Regions from separate parts of the Homo sapiens genome. Here region 2 is linked to region 1. The links are contacts of gene promoters, found by promoter capture Hi-C in blood cells and fetal thymus (Javierre and others, 2016). All regions are on one chromosome and are shown on one strand. Each heading gives the region's core, a stretch centred on a gene start or on the middle of the fragment in contact. The rest is flanking DNA. Distances are from core to core; before and after follow the strand shown.

Region 1 (3,794 bases), core at 686-3,185:
CCATGAAACCGGTGAGAACACATCTGCCTCAGCCTGAGGAAAGATGTCTGTTTTAAATAAACAAGACTTGATGGACCAAAGGCATTCACACCATGACCTGAACACAGACCTGCGAGAATCAAGAACATTTATTTGCAAGATGGCTTGTTATTTGAAATGTTCTTTCTATGAAACCTGTGGGGCCAAATTCTGTAGCTGTGGTGTCTTGAGATCACACTATGTTAATTTGTTGCAGTTCACAGATAATTCCCTTTAAATAAAGAACAGAATCTCCAAGAAACTCAGGCTTCTGATATTTAGGGGGTCATGACAAGACAGAAGTCTGGTATATCATTCCTATAATCATAAAAGTGTAACTTAGGCTGGGCGCGGTGGCTCACGCCTGTAATCGCAGCACTTTGGGAGGCTGAAGCGGGAGCATCATCTGAGGTCAAGAGTTCGAGACCAGCCTGGCCAACATGGTGAAACCTTGTCTCGTCTCTACTAAAAATACAAAAGTTAGCCAGGAGTGGTGACGCACGCCTGTAGTTCCAGTTACTCGGGAGGCTGAGGCAGAAGAATCGCTTGAACCTGAAAGGCAGAGGTTGCACTGAGCCGAGATCGTGCCACTGCACTCCAGCCTGGGGGACAGAGTGAGACTCCGTCTCAGAAAAAAAAAAAAAAAAACCTTTAACTTAGAGTGAAGGGAATATCCGATTTACAGACACAAGCCTGGGAAGTCAGGCAGGGCAAATTCTTGTAAGTGAATAATCCCACCTTTCACTGCCATAGACCTATCTCACTCTGCAAAGCAGTTTCAGAATCCCTGACAATATTAGTGTGAAGTGCGCAGGTTGACAAAATCAGCAAAGTGGCTGAGAAAATTCTCAAGGTCACCAGGGCTGCCTCTAGAATACAGCTTGTATGACCCTGAAAACAGTGCTCTTCTGTCTCACCAGCCCCCACCCCCATTACAACCCAGACCCAGCTTTATAGGGTTGCAGATGGAGAGAAGGGCTTTGCCCAAGACCACACAATGAGCGGGAGGGAGGCACACCTGGGCTACAATCCAGGAGTCAGACTTCTGGGAGGGACTCTCACAGACCAATCTTGGCCAAGTTTTGATGGCCTCTCACTACCCCCACCACTGGCAGGGCAGTATTCAGCCTTTAGGCATGAAATATGTTCACCTCGCAGAATCCTGGGGGTCCATTTGAGTCCCAGCTGAAATACCCACCACATTTTTATAAGCTTCCTCGTCGAAGGTGAGCTTCCTCCGGCCAATGAGCGTGACTTTGGAAAACAGGCCCTGCTCCAGGATTTCCTTTAAGAGCACTCTGCCGGTTTCTCCGCTGGCGCCCAAAATAAAGACGGATTTATTCTGCATCCTGAAGTCTTCCCGAAGCTTCGACAGGGCTTCTGTTTCGGCCATGCTGGGGAAATAACATCGACAGATGCCGGTCTTAGGGTGTCAGGGGACTGCCAGTCCTTATCCCGAGGAACAAGGGCTGTTTATCTGTTAGGGAGGAGGATATTGTTCTCCGCAGTCCGGGCTCTGGGGAAAGTGCTGAGTCACGTGCGGGGCGCGGCTCCCCGGCCATCGCCCGCACCTGAGCCAGCAGACCCATCGGAAGGGGCCCGAGCTGGAGGGTGCGCCCAGGTGCCACAAGCTGCTGGCATCACTGGGCATACCCCACGGTATCCCCGGCCCGGCCAGGAGACCTGGCCCAGCTCGGTCCCATACGCGGAGGGGTTACCTGGGGCCAGCCCCCGGCCCCGGGTCCTCACGACGCAGCAGGAGCAGGGCGGCCGCCAGAGCAGCCGCCGCCGCCGCGCTCAGCGCCGCAGGCCCGGCCATCAGAGCATCCCACCTTCCCTGGTCGGACCGGGGGGGTTGGAGGCGACGGAGACAGCGCCTACCCGGCTTGGTCTTCCGGGTGGCCTCGCGGCGACGCTGCCTCGCCCCGCCCACAGGGGCGGGACCTGGAGACGAACTCCTGGCACCCTCACAGGCGCGGGGAAGGTGACCCCGAGAGCACGTGCGCGGAGCCGCGACCCTTCCTAAGTTTGGAATCTGCAAGACCCTCTTCCCGCGTTTTCCCTCACCTGCTGGGCTCAGCTCACCCAGGCGCCAGCTAGTAGACTTGCCAGACTTGATCTTCAATGGTCCCCCCAGCTGGAATGTCAATTGTATATTGGCCATCATCTCAAATTCACCAAGTCAAAAACTTAACCCTGCCTACCCAACCACCCCAAACAGGAATAAAACAAACCTATTCCTAGCCTCTCTTGGGTGTCACTGTCCCTACATAAACATACACACACACACGCACACACACACACACCTCCTTCTACCCTGTCAAGTCAGAAATCAGGATTCCTTTGATTCCTTTCTTTTCTAGCCTTTCCACACTACAGACTTATCAAGTCCTGTTATCCCATCTGCCTTACAAATATTTCTCCCATGTAATTCAAGCTCGCATCATATCTCCCCAGAATAAATGGTCTACCTGCCCAGGTCCTGGCCTAATTCATCACCTAGATGGTTGAACCCGGGTGACCTTCCACACCTGTGATTCAGTCTTCCTAGCCCAGATCAGTGGTTTGGGACACAGGTATCTACACTGGGCCTGTCCTGGATCTTGGAAGTCCTGAACAGAGGTTAGAATGACAAGCAGAAATCTGAATAATTTCAGATTGTTCAGGTTTTGTTGGGAACATTGGTCATTTGGGGGCCCCACCTCCCATCTAGAAGCCAATGAAACACATTGCCTCTTCCATCTCCATGGGAGTTATTATATGTAGGCTTTGCCTAGGCTCAGCAAGCCAGAGGCTCACGCATAGGTTTTCAGTTTTGGAGGAGTAATGAAAAGATGCAGTGAAGGCCTGAGATATATGTGGGTTGGTTGGGGCAAGGGTATAGGATTATGGCATCATATGATCCACCAGCCATCTGATGGTCTGATCTTGTCTTAAATTCCTGCCTGTTTTCAGAGACTGTTGTGAATACAGTACTTCCTGTTATTCTTCTGATAAATTCCTGTGCTGTATAAGCTTACCAGATATATTCTGTTGTTTGCAATAAAAAAGCTTGATTAATATAGAGCAGTGTGGTTCATTCCCCACTGGCCTGTCACAGTGCCTGGACTCTTCCCTTTGAGTTCCTAAAGGTTTTCTACAAGAATGCAATGTTAAACCTTGTCAGCAAACACTGTCCTAGTAATTCATTTATCAAATCTGTCACAGAAATTATTCATTGTACCCTGTCTATTCTTCCCCTTTGTTTAAAATTGTGGCATAATTAATATACAATAAAATGTACAGAACCTAAAGGTTCTGTTCCATGATTTTAGGAGATTGTATATACACCTAAATAACCACCACCAAAAACAAGATATAGAGCATGTCTGCCATCCCTGAAAGTGCCTTCATTCCCTTCTTGCAATCTCTCCCCACTCCAGAGGTAATCACTTTCTGGTCACTATCAACATAGATTAGTTTTGCCTGTTGTAGAATTCTATTTAAGAGTACAGCATGTACTCTTTTGTGTCCCAGGTTTTTGGCTTAACACATATTTTAGTATTTATTCTTGTTTGTAGGCCTGCATTATGATTTCTATGGGCCCTAAGCACTTCATGAGCCCCTTCATTTTATGTACACACACTATATAATCAAAAATTATGTCTTATGACTATGTTGCTATAAAGATGAATATGACAAACTATTTATATAATCAAAAATTATGTCTTATGACTATGTTGCTATAAAGATGAATATGACAATTTCTTTCACCTAAAACATTTTCTTCCACCTAA
Region 2 (3,794 bases), core at 930-3,429, about 10 Mb before region 1:
AGACATTAGCCAACAGGCAGTGCAGTATCGTGATCCCTGAGAGAAGGGAAACGAATGAATTAAGTTCCATAATGACCCCAGCTTACTATCTGGAGGCAGTGTCCAGAGCCTAGAACAGGGAGGGGAACCCAAACAAAAACCGGTGATTTCACTAAATGGAGGCGACAGAGATGGAGGTGACAGAGATGGGAAGTTGGAGAGGCTGATGGGCAGAGTATCTGAGAGGAGGACATGGCACACAGGAGAGTCTTGGACATCTGCAAGAGTGTTCCTTTGTATTGCGTACTTCCCTTTGGCTCTGAGTACTTATCTGTGCAATGGAAGGATGAAACTCCACGAGGCTAGGGAAAAGACACCAAAAAGCAGTGGGCCAAACAGTTTCTAGTACTTACACAGGGCTGGGAATAGTTTGTCTTCCCATAAGCAGGAGCAGATTGACAGACCTTGTAAGAAGCACTTATTTGTTTCTACCAATCAAAGTAACAGTAGGAGCTGGGCCAGGTTGGTCTTTCTCTCTCTCTTTCTGTCTCCACGTGGGCTCTTTGCTTAGGCTAGTTTGGTCTTCCTCACAGCATGACAGCCAGAAGGTAGTTGGATTTATTACATGGTGTCTCAGAGCTCCCAGGGTTTGTGCTCCAGGAAGCAAGGTGAAAGCCTCTTTGCCTTTCATGACTTAGCCCCTGGAAACACATAGCGTCACTTCCACTGAATTCTCTTGGTTATGTGGGAGTCATTGAGCTTGCCCCAGATTCACAGGAAAGAAACATAATCTTTACCTCTTGATGGGAGGAGTGTCAAAAAACATATTTTTTTAAAATGCTACAATACTTATCCTAATGCATACAATAGCATGGTCTGGTGTCAAATCTAATAACTACCATAATTGCAAAGTAGTAATGAATATGAATATATCCTGAGATATCTGTAACAACTATAATGTGACACAAAAAATTATGTGATTTCTGTTGGTGACAAAGTTATAGACACTGTAAACAAAGTTATTAGTACTGCAGCAGTACTAATAGGCACTGCTAATACTATTATTTGTTGCCTGCCTTTTGTAAATAAATGAAATGCTAAATTTCAATTAGAGGTTAGGAAAAATAAAGAGAAAGCTTGCTAGGGACATAGAACAGCATTTAGGACCTAGATGAAGTTAGAGACCATGAATATGCAGAGACATAAATTAATGATGTGAAAATTTCAATTTTTCTCCTAGTGTATAGTTGCCCTTGTGTGGGACCAGTGAAGGCAGACAACAGAATTAATTTAAGCAAGAGCAGTTGACGGTTAGATGTGTAAGAAGGACAAGAGACAAGAGAGTTTAGGGTTTTTTCATGGAAGTCATTAGATGGTGAGAATCATGAGATAAGACATAAGGTCAGTTTAATTTACTATAGTATTCCAGGAGCCTAGCACTATTAGTTGAGTAAGTGGAATTGTTGAAGTGATAAATCTCTTCAAATAAACAAATGAACGAAAGAGGGAAAGCTGGTTGAGAATGAAAAGAAATGGAGCTTTCAAAATCAAAATTGAAGGCAAGGAGGTGAAATCTGTGATCAAACTGAAACAATGAACAGTTGTGGTCAGAGAGTGGAACTGAAGTTTAGGATATCAGCTAGTGAGGTAGTTTCCTGTGAGAAATTCACAGCTTCTCATTAAACGCACTTGGGAAAGTGCAAAGGAGCCAAGAATTAGGAAAAAAGAGAAACATTTGCATGCAAGAATCCCAAGTTTGGGATGAGATGGCATGTACTCTGAAAGGGAATGAGGGGAATGAATTCTTAGTAATTGTTTTCATTTCCTTTGTGTAAGCTTTCATACTGAATTTTGACATACCACAAAGAAGTACACAAGTTCTAAGTCTATAGCTTGATACATTTTTATATTTGTATAACCACTACCCAGGTCAAGAAATTATGAGCTCCCCAGAAGTCTCTTGTATGCTGTCTCCTAGTTGTGAGCACCTTTTACCAAAGGTAACCACCATTCTAACTTCTTTGACCATAGATTGGTTTTGGTTATTTCTGGACTTTGAGCTTTGGAATTGTACCACATATATTCTTTTGTGTCTGGCTTCTTGTGGTCAGTATTATGTCCTTGAAATTCATTGATGCTGTATGACATCGTAAGCAATTAAATATTTGTCATTGCTGAGTGGTATTTCTATTACGTGAAACCGACAACATTTTCTTTTATCTCTTTCACTGTTGATGGACATTGGGTTCATTCAATTTGGGGCTTCTACAAATAATGCTGCAACAAACATTTGAACATTCTGTCTTTTGGTCCACATACATTTACACTTTCATTTGGATATGTAGTAGGGAGTGGAATTGCTGGATTATAGGCAATGTGTATGTTCAGTTTGAGTACATACTGCTGAAGAGTTTTTCAAAGTGGTTGCATCAATTTACATTCCTTCTAGCACCAATTTACACTCATAAACATACTCACCACCACTTGGAGTTCTCAGTTGTTATTGTTGGCTTTCATTTTAGTTATTCTGGAGGGTGCGTAACTAATTGCTTTCTAAAGCTTCAGTATCCTCCTTGGGGCATGAAACAAAACTCTAAGTGGGCTCTGGAATCAGACTGCCTGGTTCAAATCCTGGCTTAGCCACTAGTAGGATAATGTGTAGAAATTACATTAATTCTCTAAGCTTCAAATTCTTATCTGTAAAATAGAGAAAGTAGCATCTGCCTTATAGGGTTTTTGTGGGGAATAAATGAATATGTGTTTGTGTATGTGTGTGTGTTTGTGTATAACTTTTTATATATATAGTTTAGCATAGTGCCTGGCACATAGTGAGTTCTCAATAAGTGGTAGCTATAATTATTCTTGCTACTATTTATGGACCTCCAGTTATGTCTGAAAACACTGGAATGATAAGCTCACATGTATTATCTCATTCATGACATGGTATATTTCAATCTGGAAAGATGGGTATTAAATTTAAAAGAAGTGGAGTCATTATTTGAACTAGTATCCCCTAACCTCACACCCACCTTGGCCTTGCTTTCCTTATAACAATATTTAAGAGTCAGTTGATTTAAAGAAATGTGATATAGGGGATTTAACTAATGACTGGGCAGAAGGACAGATTGAAACTGTGTTTTTCAGCAGTTCTTCTGATTTGTCTCATTTAAAGTAAAGATTTCAGACTGTTGTGGGGGTGGCGTAGGGGAAGGAAATACAGATTTGTTCACAGCTGCTATTCAAAATACTAGCCATATAACTAGGAAAGAATTTGGCTCAAATAAAAACCCCAGGGCTCTTTATTGCCATCACAATCATTATTGTGTCAATTAGGATTCATCTGGGTGTCCACAGTGTGTTTGGCACAACGTCAAGGAAGGAAGCTGATGGTTACAGGAACCATTTTGGTTACATCTTCGAATGACCAAAATGGTGTGAATTAAATGCAGAAATTAATTATTAAAAATTAATAATTCAACAGCACTGGGAACAAAAAAACTAGAACTGGAAAAGGATTTAACAATTCTGTTGCATAGCTTCCTCATTTAGAGGTTGATGAGACTTAGTTCCGTAAATGGTAATGTTATACAACTAACATATAAATGACAATCTGTAAAGCTTGTACAACCAGTAAGTAATAGGGATAGTCAAGACTCACACCCAGGTTGTCTTTCTAAAAATGCAGTGTTTTTCCTACTCAATCAGGCTGCATCTCAATCTGTAAGAATCATATTCTTAGAAAACTAGAAAACATAATATCTATTTATAATATTAATATCAATTACTTCTTTTGAATTGCTCTTTTGGAAAATTGG

What was found. The method cuts DNA at HindIII sites, captures the fragments that hold promoters and counts their contacts. A CHiCAGO score of 5 or more calls a contact.
Region 2: a contact is called between a fragment that was not itself captured here and the fragment with the promoter of HTATIP2 in region 1, in 1 of 17 cell types (activated CD4 T cells). The highest score is 5.4, in activated CD4 T cells.

Annotation. Positions count from the first base shown.
Region 1 is chr11:20,361,855-20,365,648 of GRCh38, reverse strand. It overlaps HTATIP2 (HIV-1 Tat interactive protein 2), which reads right to left and starts at 1,935. Exons shown (of 5, transcript NM_001098522.2): 1 at 1,217-1,935. The coding sequence starts at 1,411. RefSeq lists silencers at 1,586-1,728, 1,515-1,934. The HindIII fragment of the contact is 1,649 bases long and covers 1,387-3,035 here.
Region 2 is chr11:30,315,075-30,318,868 of GRCh38, reverse strand. The region is part of intron 1 of ARL14EP-DT (ARL14EP divergent transcript); the gene reads left to right. Among named protein-coding and RNA genes, the nearest start is that of ARL14EP-DT, 6.0 kb to the left of the region's middle. The HindIII fragment of the contact is 723 bases long and covers 1,818-2,540 here.